Linked DNA regions of Homo sapiens: regions 2, 3 and 4 are each linked to region 1. The links are contacts of gene promoters, found by promoter capture Hi-C in blood cells and fetal thymus (Javierre and others, 2016). All regions are on one chromosome and are shown on one strand. The core of a region is centred on a gene start or on the middle of the fragment in contact, and the rest is flanking DNA. Distances in the headings are between cores, read along the strand shown.

The links. The method cuts DNA at HindIII sites, captures the fragments that hold promoters and counts their contacts. A CHiCAGO score of 5 or more calls a contact.
Region 2: a contact is called between a fragment that was not itself captured here and the fragment with the promoter of ANKRD42 in region 1, in 7 of 17 cell types (total CD8 T cells, activated CD4 T cells, total CD4 T cells and 4 more). The highest score is 11.0, in total CD8 T cells.
Region 3: a fragment that was not itself captured here is called in contact with the fragment with the promoter of ANKRD42 in region 1 in 2 of 17 cell types (total B cells and naive B cells); the score reaches 7.8 in total B cells.
Region 4: a fragment that was not itself captured here is called in contact with the fragment with the promoter of ANKRD42 in region 1 in 2 of 17 cell types (total CD4 T cells and naive B cells); the score reaches 6.0 in total CD4 T cells.

The regions. Positions count from the first base shown.
Region 1 is chr11:83,192,263-83,195,427 of GRCh38, forward strand. ANKRD42 (ankyrin repeat domain 42) reads left to right here and starts at 1,450. Exons shown (of 11, transcript NM_001300975.2): 1 at 1,450-2,466. The coding sequence starts at 2,409. ANKRD42-DT (ANKRD42 divergent transcript) reads right to left here and starts at 1,407. Exons shown (of 3, transcript NR_149009.1): 1 at 1,205-1,407. RefSeq lists enhancers at 1,157-1,376, 1,437-1,546, 2,067-2,426 and a silencer at 1,681-1,859. The HindIII fragment of the contact is 14,061 bases long and covers 1-3,165 here.
Region 2 is chr11:82,961,394-82,964,558 of GRCh38, forward strand. No RefSeq gene overlaps it. Among named protein-coding and RNA genes, the nearest start is that of DDIAS, 61 kb to the left of the region's middle. The HindIII fragment of the contact is 3,352 bases long and covers 1-3,165 here.
Region 3 is chr11:82,985,944-82,989,108 of GRCh38, forward strand. It overlaps RAB30 (RAB30, member RAS oncogene family), which reads right to left. Exons shown (of 5, transcript NM_001286060.2): 4 at 1,644-1,827. Among named protein-coding and RNA genes, the nearest start is that of SNORA70E, 54 kb to the right of the region's middle. The HindIII fragment of the contact is 316 bases long and covers 1,576-1,891 here.
Region 4 is chr11:83,010,942-83,014,106 of GRCh38, forward strand. The region is part of intron 1 of RAB30 (RAB30, member RAS oncogene family); the gene reads right to left. Among named protein-coding and RNA genes, the nearest start is that of SNORA70E, 29 kb to the right of the region's middle. The HindIII fragment of the contact is 8,703 bases long and covers 1-3,165 here.

The DNA.
Region 1 (3,165 bases), core at 200-2,699:
GTGGTGTAACAAATGTAAAAGAATAATTAACTGCCTTTGTTCTTGCTTCTGCAAGTAGGCTTCCTGTAGCACCAAACTCCCGCCACAAATTGCTTAAAAGGTGATTGATCCCTTTGTTCCGGGCTCAGACTTTCTGGACCCCAGTCCGACTGAGCCAGTGATCACCTTAATAATAAAGGGTTGTCCTGAATTCTGTTTGGCCTCTCCCGTCTCTATTTGTCCCGCAACACTAGCAGTATATCCTCAGGCAATTAACTTTTTTTTCCCTTGTTTCTCTCTCTGTAAAAAGGAAGAGGAATACTTATTTTGGCAGGTTATAATAAGAATTGAGTCAAACTCATTTATGTTGGCATAAAAAAATGAACAAGAAAATATAAAGCACTTAGTACAATGCCAGGCAGATCATAGGAACTCAGTAGATGGCAATTGTAATATTACAAAAGGTGATGGAAGTCAAAGACAATTTACTGTACCTCAAGAGAGTAGCGGTAGGATCAGAAGAATTTCCCAAATGTGTTCACAGACCAAAACTGGGGGAAAAGCAGGGTAGTTTCCTGGTAAGACGAACAGCACATGACAAGGCAGAGATATTAAAAAGTAAGGTACGCTTCCAGGACGAGTTCATTATTCCTGAAGGGAGAAGGCAATAAGGGTGGAAAAACTGGGCCGAGAGGGGAATCCAGGTTGGTGATGCCCCTGGAGGGCAGGTAATTCTTACTAATTTCTGTATTTTCTGCTGCTGGCACAAAACGTGACCCATACGTTTGCAACAAATGGTGAAATAATTCATTCCTGTTGTTAAGCAATAGGGTTGTAGAAATATTTGAGCAGTAAACATGCTACAGTGAAAGGATTCTCGGATTTGGAGTCAGGAGACCTGAAGCACTCTTTTGACTAATGACCTGTGTTTTTTTACTGGTTTTACAACTTACCTGCTGCCTGGCCTTACCAAAGTACTGATATATTGAGTCTCTTGACCCATAAAACAGGGGTAACAACTAACAAGCGATTATTAAAGAGTTGGCGCTAGTAAAGTACGCAATAAAAACAGCGGCTGCAGCTGCTAAATTCTCCTTTAGGTCTTTTTCCATACTTGCGAAATGACAGGGCAACAAATTTCCTTCCAACCACCACTGAGAAAGTATACCACGTTTGCCCAAGGACAAAAAGGCCCCGCCCGGCCCGCGCCACACAGGTCACCTACGCAGAATGCAGTCCTGGGGGGTTCCACTTGTGTCGCTCAGCGATGGAGGGCGCGATCGATGACAGGCCACTCCAGAGACGGACCTAGATAGGTTCGCATGAGGCCGAGCCGAATTTCACCAAAAACCAGTTTACACCACCTCCCGATTTGTCCACACGAAAAGCCATGGAATAGCTGAGGGAAAGGAAACCGGAAGTAGCGTGGGCCGTGAGGAACGGGAAATGACCTCAGCACGTCGGAAGTGTACTCGTTTCCAAGGCGACGGCCCTGCTGCCTCTCCAGCCAAGTGGCTGGAGTCGGGAGGCTGGAAAGAGACTCCGAGAAAGTACCAGCGGAAGGCGGCCGCCGCTACGGCGATTCGCAGGGAGTAGCAGACGAAGACGGTGGCCGCCGCACTAGCCACCACGTGTGGAGGATAAACGGTCTACACGGCCATTCCGGCGCCGAGTCTAGGGAAAGAGTTAGCGACGACGGGGAAAGAAAATGTGAAGAGAGCGACCGCCGCTCCAGGGTCGCTGCAGGAAGCCTAAGTGCAGACGCCGGCTTCTCCCGCAGTGACTTGAGAAGGGTCAGTGAAAACCTCGGCCACTGCCGCAGCGTCTCTAGGGAGAGAGTTAGGGGAGATAGTGGCCACAGTCACAGCTGCTCTTGGGAGAGAGTTAGGGGAGACAGCACCTTCTGCAGCAGCGACGTGAATTTTAGTGAAGTTGGAGGCCACCAAACTACCGACTCCAGGGGAACAGCCAGAGAAGACCGAGGCCTCCGCCTCAGTGGTCCTTGGGAGGGAGTCAGTGACATTCGGGACCCGCGAACTAGTGACTTCGGGGATAGAGTCAGTGACGATCGCAGTCGCCGCTTCAGTGGCTCCTGGGAGGGAGGGAGTGTCGAAGGCGGCCACAGCGTTGGTAGTTCTTGGGAGGAAGTAAGTGGAGACCGCGGCTACGCAGCCAGCGACTCCTCTGGTGTGAGCGGCAGTGAAGACGCCAGCTACCGCTTCAGTGGCTTTTGGGAGAGAGAAAGTGAAGACGAAGGTTTCCGCTGCAGCTTCTGGGAGAGAGCAAGAGAGGACCTTGGGCCCCGTCCTAGTGACGACGGAGAAGAGGGCCGCTGCCGCTGCAGTGGCTCGTGGGTGAGAGCAAGTGAAGACCGCCGCAGCATCAGGGGCCTGGACTCAACTCCTCCCCAGAGTCGGAGGTGTTGCGCCATGCCCGGGGTGGCCAATTCAGGCCCCTCCACTTCCTCTAGGGAGACTGCAAACCCCTGTGAGTCAGACTGTCATTGGCCTTCATCTCTGTCGTATTCCTTTTCTCACTTAAGCCCGCAACAGCCTTAGCCCTTTCTGGCATTTCCTTTTCTCAGCCGTCACTCCCCCCTTTCCCTTTTTAATTTATTTTCAGGGGATACCAAAGCTGTTCAGCTCTCCCCTGTTCTGTATTATTTCCGCTTTCTTTCCTTTTTTCCATCCACACTATTCCTCCGAGTCTTCTTGCCCAGCTTGACATCAACTCTTGTTCAGTCTTAATGGACGGACCCTTTTAAGTTCTTCCTTGACTTCCCTGCAGCATTTGACCCTGTGGAGGTGACAAATTAGTACTTACTTAGTTTTCTTCTTTCACTCCATTGAGTGACCCTTTCCCTTACCGTTTTCTTTTCTTCTGCCATCTTCTTAAATGCAGCTTTTACCCCTTGATGATGCCATCATTGGTTCTCTTTTTCTTGTCATTTACTGTGACTTCAGTCCTACTGGTGGCCCTCAAATCGGTTACTCATTCAACCATCCAGTAAATATTTACTGCATATGCCTACTTTGTGCTCCGTCTTAAGGAACTTAAGAAGACAGGCACATTCTTTACCTTCTAGTGAGGAAGATAAATGCTGAGCAAATAATGACAAGTGAGATCAGTGTTATAAAGGACGGTAGAATGCCACTGATTCCAGTAGGGGGTGAGTATGGGTGTCAG
Region 2 (3,165 bases), core at 279-2,778, 230 kb before region 1:
ATGGACGTGATTAAGTTAATTAGGGTCGATAAATGCCATTGACAATATCTTACAACTCTTCCTTTATCTTGGAGTATTTCTTTCTTATATAACACAGGCAAGTGGATATGGTGACTCTAATATTAAACCTGTAACTGAGTAGCCATTCAGCCTAATTAACTAGACACCATCTCTCAATGGCCTGCTAGATAATTAACGTTTTATTTTATACATGTAATATTACTCATCATTTACTGTATGCCTATTATGTACCAGACACTATGGCATTTACCCTGTATTTTTTGTTTTTTTAATTTATTTAACTTTTATTTTAAGTTCAGGGGTACTTGTGCAGGTTCTTTACATAGGTAAACTTGTGTCATGGGGGGTTTTTGTACAGATTATTTTGTCACCCAGGTATTAAGCATAGTACCCATTAGTTATTTTTCCTGATCCTCTCCCTCCTCCCACCTTCCACCCCCCAATAGGCCACAGTGTGTGTTGTTCCCCTCTGTGTGTCCATGTGTTCTTATCACTTAGCTCCCACTTATAAGTGGGAACATGCCATATTTGGTTTTCTGTTCCTGCATTAGTTTGTTAAGGATAATGGCCTCCAGCTCCATCCATGTTCCTGCAAAGGACATGACACAATCTCATTCTTTTTTATTTTAAGACAGGGTCTGGCTCTGTCACCCAGGATGGAGTATAGTGGTGCAATCTCAGCTCACTGCAACCTCTGTCTCCTGGATTCAAGTCATCCTCCCACCTCAGCCTCCCAAATAGCTGAAACTACAGGCACATACCACCATGCCCAGCTAGTTGAGCTCATTCTTTTTTATGGCTGCATAGTATTCCTTGGTATACATATACCACATTTTCTTTATGCAGTCTATCATTGATGGGCATTTAGGTTGATTCCATGTCTTTGGTATTGTGAATAGTGTTGCAATGAACATATGCCTGTGTCTTCATAATAGAATGATTTATATTCCTTTGGGTGTATACCCACTAATGGGATTGCTGAGTTGAATAGTATTTCTGTCTTCAGATATTTGAGGACTTGCCACACTATTTTCCACAATCATTGAACTAATTTACACTCCCAACAGTGTATAAGTGTTCCTTTTCTCTGCACCCTCACCAGCATCTGTTATTTTTTGACTTTTTAATTGCCATTCTGACTGGTGTAAGATGGTATCTCATTGTGGTTTTGATTTGCATTTCTCTAATGATCAGTGGTGATGAGCTTTTTTCATATGATCGTTGGCCACATGTATGTCTTCTTTTGGAATATGTCTGGTCATGTCCTTTGCCCACTTTTTCATGGGGTTGTCTTTTTCTTGTGAATTTGCTTAAGTTCCTCATAGATGCTGAATATTAGGCCTTTGTCGGATACATAGTTTGCAAAAATTTTCTCCCACTCAGTAGGTTGTCTGTGCACTGTTGATAGTTTCCTTTGCTGTGCAGAAGCTCTTTAGTTTAATTAGATCCCATTTGTCAATTTTGCTTTTGTTGCAATTGTTTTTGGTGTTTTCACCATGAGATCTTTGCTCATTCCTACGTTCAGAAAGGTATTGCTTACATTGTCTTCCAGGGTTTTTATAGTTTTTGGTTTTACATTTAATTCTTTAATCCATCTTGAGTTAATTTTTGTACATGGTATAAGGAAGGGGTCCAGTTTCAATCATCTGCATATAGCTGGCCAGTTATCCAGCACCACTTATTCAATAGGGAATCCTTTCCCCAGTGCTTGTTTTTGTTAGCTTTGTCAAAGATCAGATATTTGTAGGTGAGCAGCCTTACTTCTGGGTTTTCTATTCTGTTTCATTGGTTTATGTGTCTGTTTCTTGTACCAGCACCATGCTGTTTTGATTACTGTAGCCCTATAGTTTAGTTTGAAGTCAGTTATTAATAGCATGATGCTTCCAGCTTTGTTCTTTTTGCTTAGTATTGCCTTGGCTATTCAAGCTCTCTCTCTCTCTTTTTTTTTTTTTCTTGAGACAGTCTCACTCTGTCACCCAGACTGGAATGCAGTGGCGTGATCTTAGCTCACTACAACCTCTGCCTCCTGGGTTCAAGTGATTCTCCTGCCTCAGCCTCCCAAGTAGCTGGAATTACAGGTGCACACCACCATGCCCGGCTATTTTGTATTTTTAGTAGAGATGGAGTTTCACAATGTTGGCCAGGCTGGTCTCAAACTCCTGACCTCAAGAGATCCACCCACCTTGGCCTCCTAAAGTACTGGGATTACAGGCATGAGCCACTGCACCCGGCCTTTTTTTTTTTTTCCAGCTTTGTCACCAGGCTGGCGTGCAATGGCATGATCTCAGCTCTCTGCAACCTCTGCCTCCTGGGTTCAAGTGATTCTCCTGCCTCCGCCTCCCAAGTAGCTGGGATTACAGGCATCAGAGCTTTTTTAAATTCCATATGAATTTTGAAATAGTTTTTCCTAGTTCGTGAAGAATGTTAGTGGTAGTTTAATAGGAATAGCCTTGAGTCTATAAATTGCTTTGGGTAGTATGGCCATTTTAACAATATTGATTCTTCCTATCCATGAACATGGAATGTTTTTCCATTTGTTTGTGCCATCTCTGATTTCTTTGAGCAGTGTTTTGTAGTTCTCCTTGTAGAGATCTTTCACCTCCCTGTTTAGCTGTATTCCTAGGTATTTATTTTATTTTATTTTTGTGGCAGTTGTGAATGGGATTGCATTCCTGATTTGGATCTCGGCTTGACTGTTTTTGGTATGTAAGAATGTAAGTGGTTTTTGCACCATCATTTTGTATCCTGAGACTTTGTTGAAGTTAATGAGCTTTTGGGTGGAGACTATGGGGTTTTCTAGATTAGAATCATGTCATCTGCAAACAGGGATAGTTTGACTTCCTCTCTTCCTATTTGGATGCCCTTTCTTTCTTTCTCTTGCCTGATTGCCGTGGCCAGGACTTCCAATACTGTGTTGAATAAGAGTGGTGAGAGAGGGCATCCTTGTCTTCTGCCAGTTTTCAAGGGGAATGCTTCCAGTTTTTGCCCATTCAGTATGATATTGGCTGTGGGTTTTTCATAGATGGCATTTATTATTTTGAGGAATGTTCCTTGGATACCTAGTTTATTGAGATAATCATGCAGCTTTTGTCTTCTGTTTATATGATGAATCATATTTATTAATTTGTGTATGTTAAACTAAAC
Region 3 (3,165 bases), core at 484-2,983, 210 kb before region 1:
CAGAACACTGAGATTACAGGTGTGAGCCACCATGCCCGGCTTCTGGACCTTATTTGGATCTTAATTTGAACAAACAAACGAAAAAAAATCATGAGTCGATCAGGGAAATTTGAACACTGTCTAAGTTTTTAAGGATACTAAGGAATTGTTAACATATTTTAGGTGTAAAAATGCCACTGAGGTTAGGTTTTCTTTTTAAAAATCTATTAGAGATATACACAGATATTGAAACATGAATTAATACAACCTCTGAGATTTGCTTCAAAATAATCTGAGGGAGAAGGTGGACAGCATTGCTAGGGAAGAGAAAATAAGATTGGTCATGAGTTGGTAACTGTGAAAGCTGGGAGATGTGTAGAAGGGGATTCACTATACTGTTTCTCTACTCTTGTTTATGTCTGAAATTTTCCATAGTAAAATTGTGTTTTAAGCCAATTCCTCTTTCATATTGAACTAACTGTCTCCCCTCAAATCTTCATTTACCTTCCTTAGATAAAATCCCAAGTAGTAATGCTTTGACTCAAGTTCCCAAAGGCTTTCTGTAAAACAGAAGGTACAAATGCAGACCTCTCAAATGCTTTATGGCAAAGGTTCAACATTGTCCAAAAGGGTTTTACAGGGAGCACTAGCTCATAGAAACACAGATGCTTCATCCAGCAGCCTGAAGGAAAAGTCCAGCAATTTGTTACAACGTAACATATTACAGCTGGACAACTACAGGGCTTGGAGTTGATCTTACATGCTATGTGACCTTGGGAAAAGAACTTCACCTCTTTGAGCCGTGGTTTCCTGATCTGTAAATCAGGGATCATGACACATAAAGTTCCTCGTATCATTCCTGGCACATATATACCAATTATAACACTATTCTAAAGTGTTTACTGAGCTTATTATTAACCATAATTTGTAACTTAACAATGCTTCTAAGGATCTCTACTCAAATTTCCCTAATTCAGGTATTGCTAGACTATATAGGAACGTTCCTTTCTAGGAAGAAAATATGTTAATGATCAAATGGTTACTAACACTTTTCCACTACAAACAGAGAAGTTTTTAATGACCTGGTCCATTTCAATGCATATATCAGTCATGATAGAAAATCAAGGGTTGTTTTGTGCTTTCCCCCCATACTAAATAGAGGTTTTATTCTCCTACAAGATGAAACAAACTACAGCATTGCCCTTAGCAGATTCTTTCTGAAACACAGAATTTCTCAAATCAGCCTAAATGTTAGGAAGGGAAAAAAAATTACCAAAATCCACCTTTTAGGCAATAAACAATTGCTTCAATAATGAATTCCATATCAACTTAAAAGATACATTTTTCTTCTAGAACAGCCATTCCTTTCATCTTGTAATTAGACTTTTTAAATTTTTAGCAGCTCACATAACTTTCATGGCCATCCAACTTCTTCCCTAGAGCCTACATTGATAGAAAATGTTTTCTACTTTATTTTTCTAAACTGTCACCATGGGATAGGACCTATTTCATTTTCTCTTCAATTGCAGAAGAACTGAAGGTTGACTGCATGAATTATTAGCTAAAGACTATATTCTTGGAAGGCACCAATGTATAAGCTTTATGTGATTATAAATCCTCTAATGCCCACAAATCAATTTCCCTCCTCGTTAGCCCTTACTTACCCACTAACACAGTGATGACCTTGTTGCTGGCATATTGTTCTATCTCCCGCAGCCACTCAGGAAGGCAACGGAAGGATTCCTCACAGGTAATGTCATAGGTGAGGATCAAGGCATTGGCGCTTCGGTAGTAACTCTGGGTAATGGACCGAAATCTCTCTTGACCTGCTGTGTCCCAGATCTGTAGCTGTAAAGGCATAAGATAAGAATCAGGTGAAGAAGGATCAGGTTGGAGAAAAAAAGAAAAAAAAAGCTTTGCCTTGCTTTGGTTTGAAAATGGGTACACCTTTACCCAAACAATTTCATGGTTATTTTCTGCCCTAAAAAAAAAAAAAAAAAAAAAAAAAAAAGCACTGAAAATTAAAAAAAAAAAAATCTGTTGGGTGTGTTTCTGGTTAGGGAGAGGGGCTTATTTTGTTTTGTTTTGTTTTTTCTTTGTTAAGAGTTTCCTTTTCATTCTTAAAAAAATACATATAGGAAATTCGTCAAGCATTTATTATGTGCCAAGCTCTATTCTAAGCATTTTACCTGTGGCAACTCACTTATTCCTCACAGTAACCCTATGAGGTAGATACTATCATAATACCCATTTCTTGCATGAATAAACTGAGGCACAGTAAGATTAATTAACTTGTTCAGCATCTCATAGCCAATATGTCCCAGAACCAATTCAACCAGGCATTGTGGTCCCAGAGTCCCCGTTCTTACTCACAATGCCATATTACAAAAGGCATGATACAGGGCAAGCTGTGACTGTTGGCATTTAATCAGCAACTGGAGGGAGAGCCAACCTCACCACTTTTCCAGTTCAAAATTCAAATGGATGTATTAAGGTATTATCTTTGTTAAAGAAAACAGGAATCATGCCATGGCAGACAACAATATAATTTTCCTTCAGGTCTCTTAAGTTCTATGACCTTGGCCAAGTCACTTAATCTCTTTGGGCTTTGATTATTTCTTTATAAAAAGTGGTTAATAACACACAACCTGCTGAAGGTTCACTTTTTCTGCAGTTATCTACCAGTTCTAAGTCCTAATAACTAATAATTCTAATAACAAAGAAGAAGACAATACTTGTCAATTTCCCTGCACAGAGTAGACAACTACTGAAAACGAATTATTCTCCAGGGTGGCTGCTAAGTGTAGAACAAAACACAAGGCCTTGAGAAATAAGAACATCAACAAAAACAATAATCTTTCCTTCTAATTGCACGAATTTCACAGGTCACAGGTGTATTCATGTCCAGGGACATAAGATTGCTTCCTCAGGAAGGCTTTCCAGAACCTTCAGATTAGGCTAGGTTCCCCACCCCCCCACCCCACACAGTCTCTCTTGCGATACATCCTGTCATTCTCCCTCATGGCACCTGACATGCCTGAATCATTTATTTGTAATAATTTGTTTAATAGCCATCTTTCCCACTAAACTGAAAGCTTCATGAGGGAGACGTCAGGGTCCATTTAGAGCAAATAGAGCACTTGGCAAATAGGAGGTGCTCAAATATTTACTGATGGTCTCATTTAA
Region 4 (3,165 bases), core at 229-2,728, 180 kb before region 1:
ATAATGTTGACAATAGGCTGTAAAATGAAAAGAATTTGCAAAGCTGCATTTGTCAGGACTGCAGCTATGAAAAATACACATGTATATCAACAAGGGCATTTCAAAAGTAAAAATGTGTTATGCTAGAATTATGAGATTACAGAGACCTTTTATTTTTGAAGTTTGTTATTTTTTAAAAAACAAGTTGTTAACATTTTGTATGTACCATAGACACATTTTCAGAACTTTGGAAACACAGAAAAGGGAAAAATAAAATTGCCAATACAAATGCAATCACTGTCAACATTTTGATGTGTTTCTCCTAGTTTCTTTTTCCCATGTACTGGCTGGTTTGGTTTTGTTTTGATCGTTGTTGTAATCGCATCAACATTTCTTTAAAGCAGTTACAAAATCATTTCAATTTTGAGAAACCAGAGAACTTAATATAAATCTTGTACTATAACATAATGGTGGCTATCAAGAGACCCCACATAATGTCAGTTTGTAAGTAAAAAAGAGAATATTGTACCACTATGACAAAATAAATGGACCAATCAAGGTTCCTAACACCTGTAGATGACTCTTAGGTCTATTTCAGTAGCCATAAGCCAAGAACATGGCGAGTACTGTGTATTAAAGCTGGAAGACTGAATAATGTAGTTGGAATTAGAAAGGCATTTAACAGACTGAAAACAAGAAGATACAATGATGTACTAAGTTTTCAGATCAGAAGAAAGTTGAAGGAAACCAATTCAATTGGTCATTAGGTCCAGAATATTTAACTTTCTTTACATTTCTCATACCCTTACTCTCCTGGCCTCCTGCCCTGCCCTTCACCAAGGCCAGACTCTGGTAGCTGGGCAGCAGCTGCTGTGTTCTGCTTGTTTTCCCTGCCTTCTTCCTGCCTCCCCACTTGCAGGCTGTCCTTCTTCCATTCTGCTGCCAAATGCAATGCAGACCATCACAGGCCTAATGTGCACCCATATCACTATGGACTTCTCTAGAGAGAGAAACAAGGGCAGGGAAAAACACTATCTAAGCAACGCACAGGCTTGGATATGCACTAAATGAGGGGAGGCTGAGTCTGTTGTCACCACTGAGGGGCTCAGTTTCTGCAGGAGTGTGATACTTTTGTGCTTTTCAAACAAAAGAGTCCCTCAACACAAACTGATGATTCATCTATTATATGCATGTCTTCCAAAGACTCTGTCCTCTGTTCTAAGGATAGAGGAAAAAAGCTGCTGTGTTGGACTGCCTAAGATGTGGTACGCCACCACTAGCATAGCAAACCTCACTCAGAGGCAAGAAGAAATGGAACTTGGCATTTTTTGCCTCCAATGCTTTTAGAAATGAACACTTGTACAAGATGCAATGCGACTCCACTGCAGCCTCTCCAAAGAACTAATCTAATCATGTCATTCCCACACTTAAAACTCTTCCAGGGCTCTGGCTGCCCCCACAAAGTTGTCTGTAAGAAGTAGTACAGTGCCCTGGTTAAGAGGGCAAACTTTGGAGCCACACTGCCTGAGTCTGAATCCTCAGACTGCTCTTTCTGAATGCTCTGAATGCTCTTTATGAGTTGGGTGACCCTGGGCAAGTTCCTTGTCCTCTTGGTGCCTACATTTATTTATTTATTATTATTTTTAAGAACAAATTCAATACCTATCCTATGTGTATTTATTTACAAATAGGGATAATAACAGTACTTACCCCATAGGACCGTTGTGCAGATTAAAGGAATTAATACAATAAAGTACAAAGAAGAGGGCCTGGCAAAGAGGAAGTGCTCAGTAAATGTTAGGTGCTGCTACTGTTATTGTTATTGTTGGGCGAAAGTTCAAATTCTCCAGCAGGGCATGCAGAGCCCTCCACAGCCCAGCACCTCGTATCTTTCAGGCTTTGCTTCTCATGACCTGTTACCACTATGACTACCGCTATGATCACGCAGTCTTGCCAAGTTCCCAGAGCATGGGCCCCTAGACAGGTTCATCCCTTCACACCTTTACTCACAGGGCTCATCTCTCTTTATTGGGTGGTAAACAACCAATTATCTCTCAAACCATACCCCCACCCTCCCTGTGAATTGGTCACTCTCTACTTTGTGCCTCCTCTATGTTCTGCAGAGTTTCTCCATAGACACTTTTTTTTAAAATTTATTTTCATTTTTATTTTTATTATTTTGAGACAGAGTCTCACTCTGTTCCCCAGGCTGGAGTGCAATGGTGTGATTTCGGGTCACTGCAACCTCCGCCTCCTGGGTTCAATAAATTCTCCTGCCTCAGCTTCCCTAGTAGTTGGAATTATAGGCATGCACTACCATGCCTGGCTAATTTTTGTATTTTTAGTAGAGACAGGGGTTTCACCACGTTGGCCAGGCTGGTCTCAAACTCCTGACCTCAAGTGATTCACCTGCCTCGGCCTCCCAAAGTGCTGGGATTACAGGCATAAGCCACTGCGCCTGGCCAGACACTTTATTATTCTTGTTGGTTTATGTATCCTGTTTCCTCCACTAGGCCTTAAGGACAGAGGCTCCTGCAAATTCCTATCTGTATTCTCATCGCCTGACATTTCAGTAGACTAAATATTAAATAAATGCAAAAGAAAAACTGATCAGTACACACAAAAGCTGAGAGTGCTTTTCAGAGAAACTAAACACTATGATGAGGAAATCAAACCCCAAAGCAATTTGATCTTAAGGAGAGTTAATTGGCAAAGATCATATAACCAAAGAGAAGAAAACTATAATTTCCCAAGAGAAAGTCAAACCTTGCTACAATGCAGTGTCTCTGTGTGCGTTGGAGGACCCAAAGTGCAGGTCAATTAAATATAAAATACTGCAGGAGATCCAGACTGCAAGAAATAAAGAAAGAGAACTAACCTTTATTGCATGTCTACAATAAGCCAGATACTTAGAAAATAATAGTTTCTATAAAAACAATGTGCTAGACACAGACCTATCCACTTTACCTGCATTATCAAATTAAATAATGCAAGTCCTCAACAACTCTGAGACATAAGTGTTGGCCTCTCCATTTTACAGGTGAGAAAAACATTCACTCATTTCATACATTTGTACTGGGCATCTACTATGTGCAAGTCACATATCCAGAAGCAGGGGATACCATGATGAACAAGAAGACAAGTTCCCCCTCTCATACAGCATAAAAATAGAGCAATGAATGAATG